Regions from separate parts of the Homo sapiens genome. Here all the other regions are linked to region 5. The links are contacts of gene promoters, found by promoter capture Hi-C in blood cells and fetal thymus (Javierre and others, 2016). All regions are on one chromosome and are shown on one strand. Each heading gives the region's core, a stretch centred on a gene start or on the middle of the fragment in contact. The rest is flanking DNA. Distances are from core to core; before and after follow the strand shown. Region 1 has its middle 60 kb from the start of SIRPG. Region 2 has its middle 110 kb from the start of SIRPA. Region 3 has its middle 42 kb from the start of SIRPG. Region 4 has its middle 100 kb from the start of SIRPG. Region 5 holds the start of SIRPD (signal regulatory protein delta).

What was found. Contacts are between HindIII fragments. The CHiCAGO score rates a contact against its expected background, and 5 or more counts as called.
Region 1: a fragment that was not itself captured here is called in contact with the fragment with the promoter of SIRPD in region 5 in 5 of 17 cell types (non-activated CD4 T cells, total CD8 T cells, total CD4 T cells and 2 more); the score reaches 6.8 in non-activated CD4 T cells.
Region 2: a contact is called between a fragment that was not itself captured here and the fragment with the promoter of SIRPD in region 5, in 3 of 17 cell types (activated CD4 T cells, non-activated CD4 T cells and naive CD8 T cells). The highest score is 6.3, in activated CD4 T cells.
Region 3: a fragment that was not itself captured here is called in contact with the fragment with the promoter of SIRPD in region 5 in 3 of 17 cell types (activated CD4 T cells, non-activated CD4 T cells and total CD4 T cells); the score reaches 5.8 in activated CD4 T cells.
Region 4: a fragment that was not itself captured here is called in contact with the fragment with the promoter of SIRPD in region 5 in 6 of 17 cell types (activated CD4 T cells, non-activated CD4 T cells, total CD4 T cells and 3 more); the score reaches 8.3 in activated CD4 T cells.

Annotation. Positions count from the first base shown.
Region 1 is chr20:1,716,042-1,719,725 of GRCh38, forward strand. It overlaps the pseudogene SIRPB3P. Among named protein-coding and RNA genes, the nearest start is that of SIRPG, 60 kb to the left of the region's middle. The HindIII fragment of the contact is 731 bases long and covers 1,818-2,548 here.
Region 2 is chr20:1,780,979-1,784,438 of GRCh38, forward strand. No RefSeq gene overlaps it. Among named protein-coding and RNA genes, the nearest start is that of SIRPA, 110 kb to the right of the region's middle. The HindIII fragment of the contact is 959 bases long and covers 1,545-2,503 here.
Region 3 is chr20:1,698,559-1,701,913 of GRCh38, forward strand. It overlaps the pseudogene SIRPB3P. Among named protein-coding and RNA genes, the nearest start is that of SIRPG, 42 kb to the left of the region's middle. The HindIII fragment of the contact is 6,521 bases long and covers 1-3,355 here.
Region 4 is chr20:1,758,038-1,761,318 of GRCh38, forward strand. It overlaps the pseudogene CKAP2LP1. Among named protein-coding and RNA genes, the nearest start is that of SIRPG, 100 kb to the left of the region's middle. The HindIII fragment of the contact is 3,391 bases long and covers 186-3,281 here.
Region 5 is chr20:1,556,406-1,560,064 of GRCh38, forward strand. SIRPD (signal regulatory protein delta) reads right to left here and starts at 1,300. Exons shown (of 4, transcript NM_178460.3): 1 at 1,176-1,300. The coding sequence starts at 1,248. LOC107985409 (a long non-coding RNA gene) reads left to right here and starts at 1,602. Exons shown (of 3, transcript XR_007067493.1): 1 at 1,602-1,719. The HindIII fragment of the contact is 3,313 bases long and covers 1-3,277 here.

The DNA.
Region 1 (3,684 bases), core at 933-3,432, 160 kb after region 5:
AAACCTAGAGGAAATGGATGAATTCCTGGAAACATACAACCCTCCTATATTAAATCCAGAAGAAATAGAAACTCTGAACAGACCGATAACAAGTAGCGAGATTGAATCGGTAATCAAAAAAATGGCAAACAAAAAAAAAGGTCCAGGACCAGATGGATTCACAACTGAATTCTATCAGACATCCAAAGAAGAATTGATATCAATCCTGCTGAAACTATTTCAAAAGATAGAGAAAGAAGGAATCCTCCCTAAATCATTCTATGAAGCCAGTATCACCCTATTATCAAAACCAGAAAAGGACATAACAAAAAAAAGAAAACTACAGACCAATTTCCCTGATGAACATAGATGCAAAAATCCTTAACAAAATACTAGCTAACCAAATTCAACAGCACAACAAAAAGATAGTTCATCATGATCAAGTGGACTTCAACCCAGGGATGCAGGGATGGTTTAACATACACAAGTCAATAAATGTGATACATCACATAAACAGAATTAAAAACAAAAGCCATATGATCATCTCTATAGATGCAGAAAAAGGATTCAACAAAATCCAGCATTCCTTTATGATAAAAACTCTCCTCTCAAAAAACTAGGCATAGAAGAGTCCTACCTCAAAAAAATAAAAGCCATAGATGAGAAACCTATGCCAATATCCTACTGAATGGGAAAAAGTTGAAAGCATTCCCCCAAGAACAAGAATAAGGCAGGGATGCCCACTTTCACTACTTCTATTCAACATAGTTCTGGATATCCTAGCCAGAGAAATTAGGCAAGAGAAAGAAGTAAAGAGCATTCAAATGGGAAAAGAGGAAGTCAAACTATTGCTCTTTGCAGATGATATGATTATATACCTAGAAAATCCTAAAGACTCCTCCAAAAGACTCCTAGATTTGATAAATGAATTTGATAAAGTCTCAGGTTACAAAATCAACGTACACAACTCAGCAGCACTGCTGCACACCAACAACCACCAAACTGAGAATCAAATGAAGAACTCAGTCCCAAACAACTGCAAAATAAAATACCTAGGAAAACAAACAACAGTTGTAAAATAAATAAAATACATAGGAATATACTTAACCAAGAAAGTGAAAAATCTCTACAACAAGAACTCCAAAACACTGCTAAAAGATATCATAGGTGACACAAACAAATGGAAACACATCCCATGCTCATGGATTGGAAGAATCAATATTAAGGAAATGAGCATAATGCCCAAAGCAATCTACAAATTCAATGCAATTCCCATAAAAATGCTAGGAGCATTTTTCACAGAATTAGAAAAAACAATCCTAAAATTCATATGGAACAAAAAAAAAGAGCCTGCATAGCCAAAGCAATACTAAGCAAAAAGAACAGACCTGAAGGCATCACATTACCAGACTTCAAATTATACTACAAGGCTATAGTTACCAAAATAGCATGGTACTAGTATAAAAGTAGGCACATAGACCAATGGAACAGAATAAAGAACCAAGAAATAGAGCCCAATATGTGCAGCCAATTGATCTTCAACAAAACATGCAAAAATATAAGTTGGGGAATGGACACCCTATTTAATAAGTGGTGCCGGGAAAACTGGCAAGCTACATGTAGAAGAATGAAACTGGATTCTCATCTCTCACTTCATACAAAAATCAATTCAAGATGAATCAACGACTTAAATATAAACCTAGAACTATAAAAATTCTGGAAGACAAGGTTGGAAAAACTCTTCTAGGCATCAGCCTCAGCAAAGAATTCATGACTAAGCCCCAAAAGCAAATGCAACAAAAACAAAAATGAATAAATGGGACCTAATTAAACTAAAAAGCTTCTGAACAGCAAAATAAATAATCAGCAGAGTAAACAAACAACACATACAGTTGGAGAAGATATTCCCAAGTCAAGTTACAATTGACTGGTAAGGATACCGAGGCCCACGATGGTGGAGTGCCTTGTCCCAGATCACAGAGCTGGGAAATGTCAGAGCTGAGATGTGGCACAGGTGATGGGGCTCCAACCCATGCTCTCCTAACCACTGTGCTACTGACACTCAGTAATAACCCTAACACCATCACCATCCAGAACTCTGTGCACATCCTCTCCAATCCCCACAGAGTCCATAATGGTGACCATGATCATCACCATTTCACAAATGGGAAAACTGAGGACTCGAGGGTAGCCAAGACTTTACCAAGATCACACAACCTTGGGAAAACAACCCCATCATTTACTGGTCTATTCTCTCCCCAGATTAGCTGTATCCTCTTAACATCCTGGAATGATTGGTGTAATTATCTACACCCTACATATGAAGAAACAGGCTCAGCAAAGGGAACTGGGTTGCCTGAGATCACACAGCCTTGAAATAACACGTGATTTGGGAGAGTGCCTACAATGTGTTAGGTGATTTACAGAGAGAATCTTAAGTCCTTTCCACTCTCCTAAAGGAGTCCAAGATTGTCATGATTTTACAGATGAGAAAACTGAGACTAAGAGAGATGAAGGCACTGTCTTCTTATCCCCCGTGCATGACTTGGGCATTTCCTGTGTTTTGCCAAGCTTCCCTGTTCATCAAAGAGTAAGCACTAGAACTTCAACATCCCCAACAATGACTGCCACCTCCCTTGTCCCTTTCAGATTCTTGACTTAATGCAATTCTAGGGAGAAGTCTCCCTTCTGGGTGCCCAGGGCTGGTTACTCTGTAGTTCTCCCCTTGGGCTCCCTATGGTTACTCTGTACCCATAAACAGAAGACCTTGGGTTCCTAATAGCCCAAAAAAGAATGTAAACTCTTGCTCACACGGGGCATGAGAACTCTAGGAAATGTCTCATTCCCACATCCTTAGTCTTCGGCACCATGAGTGGGTGGGCACGTTGTAATGGCCCAAGTGGCTCACCTTGCCCATTGCCTAGACAGAGTCGATTTATGAAGACAGGGGAATTGCTTGAAAGAGTAATTCACACAATTCTGGCTTTGCGGGAGACCAGAGATTTATTATTACTCAAATCAGTCTCTCCGAGCATTTGGGGAGCAGAGTTTTTAAGGGTAAGTTGGTGGGTAAGGAGAAGCCAGTGAGCCAGGAGTTCTGATTGGTCAGGGATGAAACCATAGGGAGTCGAAGCTGTCTTCCTGAGCTGAGTCAGTTCCTGGGCAGGTGGCCATAAGAGCAGAGGAGCCAGTTTTTGGATCTGGGTGGTGCCGGATGATACATCAAGTTCAGAGTCTGCCAAATATCTCAAGCACTGATCTTAGGAGCAGTTTAGGGAGGGTCAGAATCTTGTAGCCTCCAGCTGCATGACTCCTAAACCATAATTTCTCATCTTGTGGCTAATGTTAGTCCTACAAAGGCATTCTAGTCTCCAGGCAAGAAGGTCTGCTTTGGGAAAGGGCTGTTACCATCTTTGTTTAAACTATAAACTAAGTTTCTCCCAAAGTTAGTTCAGCCTACGTCCAGGAATGAACGAGGACAGCTTGGAGGTTAGAAGCAAGATGGAGTCAGTTAAGTTAGATCTCTTTCACTGTCTCTCATAATTTTGCAAAGGTGGTTTCAGTGTGGTCTGCTGAAAGGCAGGAGGCTGGACTCAGCTCCATGGATGCTGCTCGATGAAGGAGAAATGGCACATGTAAGAAGAGTCCTAAATGCCAAGACATATCTTTTAGGACAGGTTCAACATAACATATAATGCCTGCAGG
Region 2 (3,460 bases), core at 774-3,273, 230 kb after region 5:
TCCCATCAACACTTCACTAGACCCCCGTTGTCTGCTTGCTTACCTGCAGTGACAGGGAGCTGTCTCCATGAGAAGCAGCTCCATTCACCCTCACACCCAGCTAGGACTATGACAAAATATTTCCTGCTTCTGGGATATAACCTGGGATCTGTCTCCCAGAATTTTCCCAGGAAAACTGCAGGATGAGACTCACCCCTCCTTCTAAGGACAGCCTTGCAGAGCTCTGGAGCAAGAAACTCCCCAAGTCTTCACAGCATTCCCTAAGCCCCTGCTCTGCACCAGGTCAAGAGCTGGGTGCTGAGACCACAGAGATGAGTCAGACAGGACCCCCACCCTTGAGAAGCATCTGGTCAGATGGGGGTGAAAGGCAAATAAACAACCAATGACAAGCAGGATGACAGGCAGAGGGCAGCGCAGGAGGCCATAGGAACTTGTCCTCTTAGCACACAGCTCTGGTACCTTCTGGACTGTGCTCTGCCCTCATCACCCACCCTGCACACAGCACCGTGTGGTTCAGAAAACATTTTCAGCCATGTGTGCTTCTTTTCTTCCACATCTCAGCTGTGGGAGGCTGGTATTATTGTCCTCACTTTCCAGAAAAGGAAACAGAGATTCAGAAAGGTCTCGTGACTTGCTCAAGGTCACACAGCCTATCAGTGACTAAAGAGGGAGGGTAAGAAGGCCTGTCTGACTTTGGGTCCAGGACTCTTCCATGCCTCCAATGCCGGAGGCTCCATCACTCTGGCGACTTCTCTCTCTCTCTTTTTTTTCTCTCTCTCTCTTTCTTTCTCTCGCTCTGTCTTTTCCACCCTTACACCCTCTCTGACCCAGAACAGGTAGCCACCCAGACTAGAGCTGACATCGGGAAAACTGGGAGGTGGGCTCCTCTTTTACCCCCTGACCTCCCCCGAGCCCCTCACCCTTAGGTCACTTCCTCTTCTGACCCCCAAGCTCCCACCAGCTCCCTTTGTCCGCAAGGTCTACATTGAAGAAAAGATGCAAAACAGCACCTGACTGGCAGGAAAACAGCTCAGTCACCTCCTCTGAGCCTCAGTCTTCCTTCAGAAAGACACAGTGGCTGGATTTGGTCATTCCTGGGGGTCTCCTTGCCTGCCCTGAGGGTCTCTCTGGGCAGGAATCAGGACTCACCTGTGAGTCCCAGCAGAAGGGTGGGCAGGAGGGAGCCCAGGGCCCGCCCAGGTGTGGTAGCCATGGTGAGAGACTCACAGTGCTCCTGGTCTGTTCCTGGTGGCAACCACTGGATAAGGCCCTGAAAGAGCCCAGGAGCCACTGACCAGCCTCTGACAGCCTGGAGCAGGCCTTATACTTCCCAGCTGCCTACCCCACCCCATTCTCTGCCATGCCTGGAACAGAGGCCTGAGCCACAGTGAGGGAAGTGGTCACTGTGGCCACGGCCTCCTTCCAAGCTGCAAACCTTCAGGCCTGAGGTGTCTAACCAGGGAGGCATCTGGAGCCTTTTAATGGGTTCCGACTGTCCCTGATTCCCCATGAGCAAAACCAGAAAGCGGCTGAGCTCTGCCTCAAGCTTCAAGCCACAGAGCTGGCCTCTGATAGGCTGAGCCTTGATGTCCCTTGTCCTGGAGGCTCCTCCATGCTGAACAAGCAGCATCAAGAGCCTGCCCTGTCCCAGGCCCAGACACGGCTTCTGGGAATGCAGAATGGATCAGATATGGGCCCAGAGGGTTGAGAAGTGAGCCTTGACATACACAACCACGTGCAACCAAGAAAGACCCTAGACTTTGAAACCCAACCCTTGCCTCACAGCTTAACTGGGCTTGGACAATGGTGGCACGGATTTCCCATGGCCCAGAACTGTCTACTAGGCTCCACGTTGGGGAAACATGAGTTTGAAACACAGCCACCAGTTTCCCTGACCTCCCTATGAAAACAACCTCTCCCTTTGGTCTCTCTCCATTTCCTTACCCTACGTTACTGGGCTTTCCAATGGTTAGCCCTGATGTATATTACTCGTTTTTATCCATTTCCCTCATGAAAAACAAATGATTTGCCCTGAAGACTACTGCTTTTTGTTCATGGCTGTAACCAGCAGCCACACAGTGCTGGGCACAGAATAGATACTCGCTAATAACAAATGAACCTTTGGGGCCAGGTATGTTCTCAAGACTGATTACAAAGCAGCCAAGCCCAGCCTGCTCCCCAGCCATCCCATCTCTTTGGGGTCTGTACGCTCAGCTAAAGTGGAGGGAGAGGCTAGAGAGGAGTTTTCTAGCCTGGGTGAGGCTGTTATGGAAACTCCCCTGACCTCACAACCCCCCACCACTACTCAGCCAAGCAAGGCACCCCAAAATGACTCCTAGATATTACGTGCCTGCAGGAGGAGGAGGCTGGCTTTTCTTTTTCCAGGTGTCTCCTGAAGCAACAGTGGATTTGCTGATCCACCTTGATGTTGCCCTGAGCAGGAGAAAAAGGAACTGAAAAGAGACAGCAGGGTAGAGTGACGGGGTGGCAGGGCAGCAGCTCAAGCTTCCTCCATGCAGAGTGGCAAGGGGGTGAGGTCCATGGAGAGACCCTCATTGAAAGGGGGGAGCCGACCTTAGAGCATCCCACTCAAGAGAGATGACCACTGGCAAGAGGGCCTAGGAGTAAGAGACTGCAGCATGGACTCCAGCGGGGAGCTGTGAACCTGGATCAGATCATGCATAAAAGAGACTGTGCAGCAGACTGTGTACCCCCACAGCATACACACATGGGCACACACACGTGCACATGCATGCACACATGCACACATTCAGGATCCTCCTAGGAATCCACACCTGTGCCCTAGGAGGCAGCTGGCTTCCAGAGTCCAGCCATAGTGAACAGAGCATTGCTGGGTAAAAGAAGTCCCTCTTTTTCCATCTCCCTTCCCAGGCCCTAACACACCAGATGATAGACAGACCCAATTCAGGGAAAGGAGGAGGGACAAAAGAATGCTTCACCTCCATCCCTTCCAGATCCCTCAGCAGGGACTTGGAGGCAGCAGTGGGCTGGGGTGAGAGAAGGAAGTGGACGCTGAACTAGATGTAATGTTGGCATTTTCAACCAGACTAGTTTGGACTGGGCAGGGCCTGACACAGAATAGTTACTTTATAAAGTTTGGTAAAATTATTCATCTACCCTCAGTTCCTTGGTGACACTAGCCACATTTCAGACACTCAATAGTCACGTGTGGCTACTGGCTACCATAGTCGACAGTGAGGTCTTGGGTGAAACATTCTTCATCAGGGAAGTCTTTTCTACCCTAATGTCTCCCTGTGGGTTCAAATACTTCTCTTGCAGAGCATTTATCACAGTTATAATTAAACTGTTAACTTGAAACTAGTTGCATAATAACTCTTTCCCTTATTAGACTGTAGGCTCTGGAGGACAGGGACCATGTCCTTGGTCACTAGTGTAAATAAGTGCCGGATGAATGTTTGTTGGATGGATGGATGGGTGG
Region 3 (3,355 bases), core at 389-2,888, 140 kb after region 5:
ACGAGGCTCTGATGAGGTCTGCTCCATCAGCCTGGATGCCTGAATGACCATGAATTCTCCACACACACTGAACATGCAGCTTAACTAACAAGTACAACATTGTTTTAAGCCCCTGAGAATTTCTCACCCATAGCATAATTACATTACCTTAGTTTCCTAATGTTGATGTGACAAATTATCAGAACTTAGCATCTTAAAACAAAAGAAACGTATCATCTTATAGTTCTGGAGGTCAGAAGTCCAAAATCATGTTACTGGACAGAATCAAGGAGAAAAATCTTCAGATATACAAAGATAGAGGATGACATGTTGGTGGCCAGGAGTGAAGTCGGAGAGGTAATGGGGAGATGCAGGCCAAAAGATACAAAACTGCAGAAAGGTAGGATGAAGAAGTCCAGAGATCTAATGTGCAATATGAGGACTAGAGTTAATAGCATTGCATTGAATTCAGTATTTTTGCTCAAAGAGTCTATCTTAGATGCCCTACACACACACACACACACACACACACACACACACACACACACACGGTAACTATGTGAGAGGGTGGATATGTTCATTTGCTTGACTGTAATAACCATTACACTATGTCTATGTATACGAAAGCACCATGTTTTACCCCTTAAATAAGAGGTGTCAGCAAAGCTGTGTGTATTCTAGAGGCTCTGTTCCTTGCTGCCACATTCCTTTCCTCACAGTTACATCTTCCCATCACTCCCACATCTTGCTTCCATTGTCATATGTCCTACAAAGACCCTTGTCATATATTGGGCCCTTTCTGACACTAGACCAAGATGTTAAATCACTGTCTTAAACATGCTCAAACAGCTAAAGAAAACAACAGAAAAAAAACTAAAGAAACATTGGAATATGATGCATTAATAAAATAAGAACAACAGCAAGAGAAATTATAAAAAATAAACAGAAACTTAAGAGTTAAACAGTACAATAATTGAAAAATCCACTAGAGGTGTTCTCCAACTGGTGTGAGCAGTCAGAAGAGAGATTCAGAAAACTGGAATATGGAATAATTGAAATTATTGTGACTGGGGAATAGAAAGAAAAAGGAATAAAGAAAAACAAGCAGAACCCGAGGACATTGTAGGACATTATCAAATGGATCAACACAAACATTGTTAGAGTTCTAGAAGAAGAAAAGAGGAAGAGAGAAAGGAACAGATTATTTGAAGACATAATACCCCAAAACCTTTTGAAACTTGATAGAATACATGAATCCTCAAATTTAAGATTCTGAAGAAACTCAAGTTTAACTCAAGGAAAAATTCAGAGACCCACACTAAGACACATTATAATCCAACTGTTGAAAACTAAAGTCAGGGAAAGAATCCTGAAAGCAGCAATAGAGAATGGATTCCTCACATACAAGAGTTCTTCAATGAGATGATCAGCCAATTTCTTATCAGAAGCACTGGAAGCCAGAAGGCAGAGGAGTGATATGCTGAAAATGCTGAAAGAGGAAAAACCTATCAACCAAGAATCTTATACCTGGGAAAACTATCCTCTAAACATGAGGGAGAAATTAAGATATTCTCAGATGAATAAAAACTAAGAGAGTTCACTACCATTAAACCTTACCTACAAGAGTGGTTTCAGGTAGAAATAAAAGGATGCTACATGGCAACTGCAAGTTGTATAAATAAAAATGTCCAGGCTGGGCATGGTAGCTCATGCCTATAATCCCAGCACTTTGGAAGGCCAGGGCGGGCGGATCACGAGGTCAGGAGATCAAGACCATCATAGCCAACATGGTGAAACCCTGTCTCTACTAAAAAATACAAAAGTTAGCTGAGCGTGGTGGTGCATGCCTGTAATCCCAGCTACTCAGGAGGCTGAGGCAGGAGAATAGCTTGAACCAGGGAGTCAGAGGTTGCAGTGAGCCGAGATCATGTAGCTTGAACCAGGGAGTTGGAGGTTGCAGTGAGCCGAGATCGTGCCACTGCACTCCAGCCTGGTGACAGAGTGAGACTCTGTCTAAAAAAAAAAAAAAAAGTCCTGCTACATGTAAATTTATTTTAGTTCATATTTTTCTGATGCTTCAACATCCCACAATCATGCTGTGAGTACCCTGCCCAGGTGACCAGGTGCACCAGTGTGATAAGGCTGGCTCCTGGCACAATTTCCCTTTCTTGCCCTCCCATATTGTGACCTAATCCCATAAAAAGACACCAGTAAATCCCATCATGCTCTTTGCTTGTACCCTCTACCCTGACTCCCAGTAAAGGCACTTGCTGAGGAATTCTTTCTCTCTTGCTTCCCCATCTGCTTGATTGAGCCTGCTTCCTAGGAGCTCTTCTCATATGGCTTTCTACGTAGCATGCCCTACTTCCCTCTCTAGGACCTGTGAGTAAAATAAATCATATTCCACATGCCTTTCCAAGTGAAAATTTCATGACCATCTTAGAGTGATTCATAAAGACCCAATAGCCTGACTTTAGCATTTTCAATACCAATGGCAATGAGAATGGGATCATTCTAAACTGGGGTGGAAATTTCCTAGGAGATGCTCTTTAACTATTCATGGCTTACTAATTTGCTACTCTGATTGGCTCCACAACTTGAGAAGGCTTTTTACACTGATGGCTTTCTTTTGCTGTGCTATGTGCAGCTTCATGTTACCTTTTGGAGTTCTGCCAAGACTCTCTATCCTGAAGTGAGGATCCTGTTTAAATATCAATAATGACATCTACATTTCTTCAAGAGCACAGGATGACATAACATTGATAACAACCTCTTCAAAGGAGATTCATGTGATGTGCATATTAACATCACATTATCCAGCATCTCTAAGTTGTTTTGAGGCGCCAGTGGCAACATATTCTTCTTTTACAAAGTTTATTTACAAATTAAAATCAATAGGCACCCCTGTTAGTGCCTATAAACAAAGAAACAAAAATACCTCTTCTCTGTGGAGACTTTAGCAATTTCTTTCATGCTTTTTGGAGTTTCTAGACCATTCATGATGGCCATACATCTCCCCAGGGCCTTTGATGCAAAAACAATGCCCCTCTCACCCTTGTGCTATATTCCATTAAAACAACAAATGCCTGGTTACCTACTGGGCTCTCCCATCCTGGAGTCCAGATCTAGGAACAATACTCTCCTGTTGCAATCATGAACCGTAGATTGTCCCACATGCAAGGCTCTGCTCATCTGAAATGGGGCCCATTGGAACCTAAACTTCCACTGAAAAGCAAAATTAAAATTTCCGTCAGGTGCAGCTGCACACCATTTTGTGGACTGTTGGTCTTATAATTTGTTGATGCAACAATTCTCAACCAAATACTAACAAACTGAATTTAATAGCATATTAGAAGGATTCTACACCATGAGTAAG
Region 4 (3,281 bases), core at 631-3,130, 200 kb after region 5:
CTAACTTATACATGCTCTTTAATAATTAACCCTATTAACCTTTGTACCCTCCACCATTAATTTTTTATTTTTGATGCTTGAGTCCTACTAAGGGTCTGAACAAAGAGAGAGGGAACTGTCTTGGGGGCTTTTCTCCCAGTCTTGGAAGATCTTCTTGAGAGAGTTGCTATGACTTTACTGATAGAAGCTTGACTTGTGTTTCTCCAACAAATTGTTTATGAACTCTGTCTTTCAGGGCAGCACTAGTCACTGAATATCTGCCCAAGGCTTGTTGAGGAACCAAATTGCTCTTGGTTCAATTATGAGAGTTATTCTTTAACTTCTTTATAGTACATAATTGAGAGTCTGGCTTCCTCTCAGGGTCTGACAAGGTTTGAGGCAAATTCTCTTCATTAATCTCTTTTAGAAAGCTAACCAAAGATTAATTTTCAATGCGGGCATTTCCTATGGAGTCTGTACACTTAACATTCCTTGATATGTTAACTGCTGCTTTGTAGTCTTCAAATCCTGTGCATTAAGTGACCCCATGGGTTTTCTTGACAGCTTTTCCATGGTGAATGATCCAGCTTTGTGCTGCTGTAAGCTACTGCTGGAGGCTTACAGTTTGGTTAGAAGGAACATATTCAGCCTTTTGCCCAGTTTTAGTGGCTTCAACTTTGGCTTCTGGGACCTTGTAATATTGGCTTGTCTGGCCTGGAGTTTAATGCTGATGGGCCTTATGCTTTAACAGGCAAAACAGCATGATTGATAACATTCTCTTGGATAGATTTGGGCAATTATTTTTGGCTTTTAGATAAAGCTCAGTGTTTGGCACTTGAAGTTCCTTTCGACTTCTAGGTACTCCTGGAGCTTTCTCTGTTGTTCGGTGGCAGCAGTGGTGGTGACAGGCCCTGGCCTCACCATGACTTCTCAGTCACAGTGTTTCTTCCTCTCTCACCACTTTTATTGAGTATAGTACTGGAAGTCCTAGCCAGGGCAATAAGGCTAGAAAAGGAAATAAAAGGCATACATATCAGAAAGAAAGAAATAAAACTATCTCTATTTGTAGATGACATAATAGCCTTTGTAGGAAATTCTACAGAATCTACAGAAGAGACTCTTAGAACTGATAAGTGAGTTCAGAATGGTGACAGACTACGTGATCAACATGCAAAAAGTTAACTTTAATTCTTTTTTTTTAGACATAGTTTCACTCTGTCGCCCAGGCTGGAGTGCAGTGGCATGATCTTGGCTCACCACAACCTCCGACTCCAGAGTTCAAGTGATTCTCCAGCCTCAGCCTCCCAAGTAGCTGGGACTACAGGTGTCCGCCACCATGCCCAGCCAATTTTTGTATTTTTAGCAGAGACAGGATTTCACCATGTTGGCCAGGCTGGTCTCAATCTCCTGACCTCAGGTGATCCACCTGCCTCGGCCTCCCAACATGCTTGGATTACAGGCGTAAGTCACCATGCCTGGCCAAGTTACCTTTAATTCTATATACTAGCAATAAACCCATGAAAACCAAAATTTAAAATATAATACCATTTAATTTGCTCAAAAATGAAATAGCTATAAATTTAACAAAACATATATAAGACTTGTATGCTGAAAACTGCAAACACTGATGAAAGAAATCAAAGAAGATTCAAATAAAGAGGAATGTGTTAGTCAGCATTCTCCAGACAAACAGAACCAATAGGATACATATATCAATAGATGGATGAGATGGGATTTACTATGGGAATTGACTCACGTGATCATGGAGGCCGAGAAGTCCCGCGATATGCTGTCTGCAAGCTGGAGAACCAGAGAAGCTGGTGGAGTGGCTCGTTCTGCATTTGAAGGCCTGAGAACCAGGGGAGATGTTGGCGTATCTGTCAGTCAGAGGCTGAAGGCCTCAGACTCTACAGAGGTAGAGATTGGGACTGGGTAATCTCATAGCACTGGTGTAAGTCTTGGAGTCCAGTGGCCAGATAACCTGGAGTTCTGATATCCAAGGGCAGGAGAAGATTGGTGTCCCAGCTCCTGAAGAAAGAGTGAATTCATCTTTCCTCTGCCTTTTTGTTCTATCCAGGCTCTTAACTGATTGAATGGTGCCCATCTTCATTAGATGAGGGCAGATCTTCCTTACTCAGTCCACTGATTCAGACACTAATCTCTTCCAGAAATACCCTCAGAGACACACCCAGAAATAATGTTTTGCCAGCTATCTGGCTATCCCTTAACCCACTCAAGTTGACACCTAAAGTTAACCATCACAGGGAGACATGCTATATCCATGGACTGTGAGCCTCAGCATAATAAAAATGTCAATTCTATCCAAACTGATATATAGGTTTAACACAATTTCTGTCAGAATTCTAGACATATTTTTGTAAATATATATGACTATTTTTAAATTTATATGAACAAAGGGAAAAAAAGAGAACTGAAAGAGTCAAAACAGAATAAAGTGGAAGGAATCAATATACCTGATTTTAAGACATGATAAAGATGTAGTAATCAAAACTTTGTGATATTGGCAGAGGAACAGACACATAGATCGATGGTACAAAATAGAAAACCTGGAAACAGCCCCGTACAAGTACAGACACTTGATTTTTCAAAGTAGCAAAAGCAATTCAATGGAGGAAGGATTGATTCCACAAGTGAAACAGTCTTTTCAACAAAAGGTGCTGGATATCCATAAACAAAAAATGAACCTCAACCGAAACCTCATACCATACATTATACAAAAATTATCTCAAAATAGATCGTAGGTTCAAAGATAAAACATAAAACTATAAAATGTTTAGGAGAAAATCTTCAGGATCTAAGGCTCGATGGCAGATTCTTAGACCTGACATCAAAAGCATGATCAATTTTAAAAATTGATAAGTTGGATTTCATCAAAATTTAAAACTTTCGCTCTCCAAAATACCATGTTAAGGATGAAAACAAAGCTACTGACCGGGTGAAAATATTTGCAAACCACCCATCTGACAAAGGGTTCAAATCTAGGATATCTCTCTCAAAACTCAACAGTTAAAAACAACAAAACAAGACAAAAACTTCCATTACAAGTGGGTAAAGGTGGGAAAACTCAAACTGTTTTTCCTCTGCACTCATATAGCAACAATCAACACAGAAGACTTCTGTGACCAAATGTGGGAGATTTCTTCTCCACCAACAAGCAAGCAATCAATTCTGCAGCAGACACCAGCTGGGTGTCCTCAATCCAATTCTAATCTGATGCTATCTATCTGGAGGTAACGTCAGACACCACGGGGATGAGCACTCAGTCCCATGGAACTTCTCCC
Region 5 (3,659 bases), core at 50-2,549:
ACAGATATAAATGCAGTACATAAACCAACAAAGAATATATCTAAGTTATTAAAATTTCATGTTGAGGCTATTATGAGTTGAATTGTATGCCTCCGAAATATATGTTGAAGTCTTAACCACAAGTAGCTCAGAATGTGACCTTACTTGGAAATAGAGTTACAGAGGAAATCAAGTTAAAATGAGGTCATTGAGGTGGGTGCTAATCCAATATGGTGGATGTTTTTATAGGAAGTGGAAATTTGGACACAGAGACAGACATACATGGGAGTAAGATGATGTGAGGATACAGGGAGGGTGGTGCCACCTGCCATCCAACAAATGTTTGAGGCTACCACTGCTAGAAGCTCAGAGACAGACATGGAACAGATTCAACCTCACAGTCCTCAGAAAGAACCAACCCTGCCCACACTTCGATTTTGAATATCTAGTCTCCAGACCTGTGAGAAAATTAATTTCTGTAATTTAAACCACCCAGTTTGCAGTACTTTTTAAGAGCAGCCAAATGCAGTGGCAACAGAGAAATAAAAAACTGAATTTCACAGAAAGAAGTGTAAAATCTGCCAGGGGCCAGGTGTGGTGGCTCACGCCTATAATGCGAGCACTTTGGGAGGCCGAGGCAGGTGGAACTCTTGAGCTCATAAGTTTGAGACCAGCCTGGGCAACATGGTGAAACCCCATCTCTACAAAAAAGACAAAAATTAGCTGGGCATGGTGGCGCGTGCTTGTAGTCCCAGCTACTTGGGAGTTGGAGGCACGAGAATCACTTGAGCCCAGGAGGTGGAAGTTGTAGTGAGCCAAGATCGCACCACTGCACTCCAGCCTAGGTGACAGAGTGAGACCCTGTCTCAAAAAAATAAGTAAAGGTAAAAATAAAATAAAATAAATTACACCCTCCAGAGGCTGGAGGGTGAGAGCTGTGATGGATGCTGTGCCCCGCCCTGTGACCATAGGTGTGAGTCGTTTACCTGAGCAAAGAGATTTGCAACAGACATGGCCACCGGGAGACTTTGTCAGAATTGGGGACCATCCCAGTGTAGTCTTCTGAGTTCTGCCTGTTCTGGGATAAGATGGAGAAAACCCTCCCAAAAGAAATTCTATGGGAACAGGTGAGGGAGAGTTCACTAAACAGGCAGAGGGGAGAACCCACCACACACATACACTGAGGCCCCACTCACCTGCCAGTTCAAGCAGCAGATACAGCAGTAAGGAAGGCAGAGGTGGGTGGAGTGGGGAGGCAGGGATGGGCATTGTGGTGAAACCTGGAGCTTGCTCTGCCTGAATGCCTGTCCTGGAGATGCCCTCGACTCAGTGCTCCGAGCAGAGAAGACAGTTCTTGCCTCTGTGATGTCAGAGGAAGGGGATTGTGATGAGAGGAAAGGCCAGGGGACTGGGACACTTTTTCCTTTGTGATTATAAAATTGAACAGACAAGGTTGCTTCAAGCTAGGAAGTTGCTGCTGGAAGTATTTAGCTTTGCTGGGGCTGGGGGGCTTGACACCCACAGCCTTATACTCCTTCCTGAGTTTCATCCCATCTCACAGGTTCTCCCCAACTTCATGGCCTTTGCCTATCTAGGAGCCTCAGACACATAGGCTAGACAAAGGCCTCATCCACATGATGCGCAGGTATGGGTCTAGCTCCTGCATGAGCTCAACATCTGGGCCTGTCTGAGCTGCACAGCTGAAGAAAGAGACAAGATGTCTATAGCCTCACCCACTTGGTAAGAGTTGGACTTTACAATGGATGCCCTTTCTTGCACTCCAGAGTAGTTAGAGGTAAAAAACAAGCAATATCTGCTGTGGGCTCTTGGCTTTTCTGTGGGTCCCTCCATACACTACCAGGAACTGCTTCCTTTTTCCTTCCTGCAGAGGAATCAGGCATGGCTGAGAAAGACATTCGAGTTGTGCAGGTGGTGATGATTTGTGCTTTAGAGGATGGAGGAGGCCTGCAGGGAAGGCGGAGCTGCGGGGAACACTCTCTAGGAGGGAGAGTAACATGCCTACAAACACCTGGGAAGGTGAGGGCTGCCTCTCCTGCTTGGGCTGGACCTGGGACCAGCTCTCAGAGATGGGATTGGAGGGGCAGAAGAAATGCCCCCAGAAAGAGGGAGGAAGCAGCATGTTGGCATCCTTCTCTCTCAGCTCTGGAATGGGTTCTTCCTAAGCACAAATGTTGTGTTCAGGGACACTCAGCCCACACTCAGCTGGTGACCCTTTAATGTCCAAGCATCCACAGGCAGGCACTGGCTGCCATGGCTGTTTCCCCATTGCCTCCTCATGACTTCTGCCTCCTCCTCAGGAACCAGCTAGATGTCAGGGCCGGGAGAGGTGTTAGACCCTCTAGGAAAAGAAAGCAGAGCCAGGCTGGCACGTTCTCTCTGAGACGACAAGAGTCCCCATCCCCTTGTGATGTCATCATCCTATCCCGTTGTTCTGAAATGATGAATTCCACAAAGGAATTCCTATCCATGGCCCCTGCTTGGAACTAGACAGGAACATTCCTCCAGCCTCCATCATCCTCCCCTTCCCCTACTCTGAGGAATCTTCTCACCTTTCATTAGACTCTAAGTTCCTTGGAGAGTCAGTACTCACGGGTCAGTATCCAAGAGTGCCAGCTTTGGAATCAGATATAATCTAGGCTAGAATCCTGAACGCACCTCCTAAGAGCTGAGTAATCTTGGGCCCATGATACAGACCTGTATATTCTGCAACCTTCTTGACATCTTCATTTGTATATATATATATATATGTATTTTTTTTTTCGAGACAGAGTTTCGCTCTTGTTGCCCAGGCTGGAGTGCAATGGTATGACCTCGGCTCACTGCAACCTCTGCCTCCCGAGTTCAAGTGATTCTCCTGCCTCAGCCTCCCGAGTAGCTGAGACTACAGGCGCCCACCACCACGCCTGGCTAATTTTTGTATTTTTAATAGAGACAGGGTTTCACCATATTGGTTAGGCTGGTCTCGAACTTCTGACCTCAGATGATCCACCTGCCTCAGCCTCCCAAAGTGCTGGGATTTCAGGTGTGAGCCACTGAGCCTGGCCTCTTTGTATACCTTAAATATTCAAGTTTGAGTTTCAGATCTGCACTCACAAACCTTATCTTCTCCCACACCATGCCTGTTTTGTATATGGTACCATCATCTAAGCAGTTTGTCAAACCAGGAAGGGACTCATGTTCTATACCCTCACTTATCCACTTGTTACCAAGTGAAAGGGGGTTGCTGCCTGATGTGCTAGAAGCCAATACTGTGACACCAGGCTTTTGAGAAAAGAAAAGCTTTTTATTGCAAGTTGACTAACAGGAAGACAGAAGTCTACCTCAAATCTAGCTCCATGTGCTGGCTTCAAGGCAGTAGTTTTATTAGCAAAAGTTTAGGGGTTGGATTCTGGGATTAGTATGTGATTTGTGAAAGGAAAGGGGAGGTCTGGAAAGTCCTTGGGCATGTACAGTTATCTCTCTATGCCTCTTCACGGCTCCCATGTGCAAAACCCTGGGGCGTCATCATGAAATACGTGGTAGAAACTCAGGCTGTGACATCAGCAAGCTCATTCTGAGCAAACTCCAGTTGGCCATATTGGTTCCAACAGATTTTAGTCAGTTTTGTTATCCTACAAGTGGAGGAAGTTTCGGCAGTTTAGCAATTTTTTTTTTTTCTT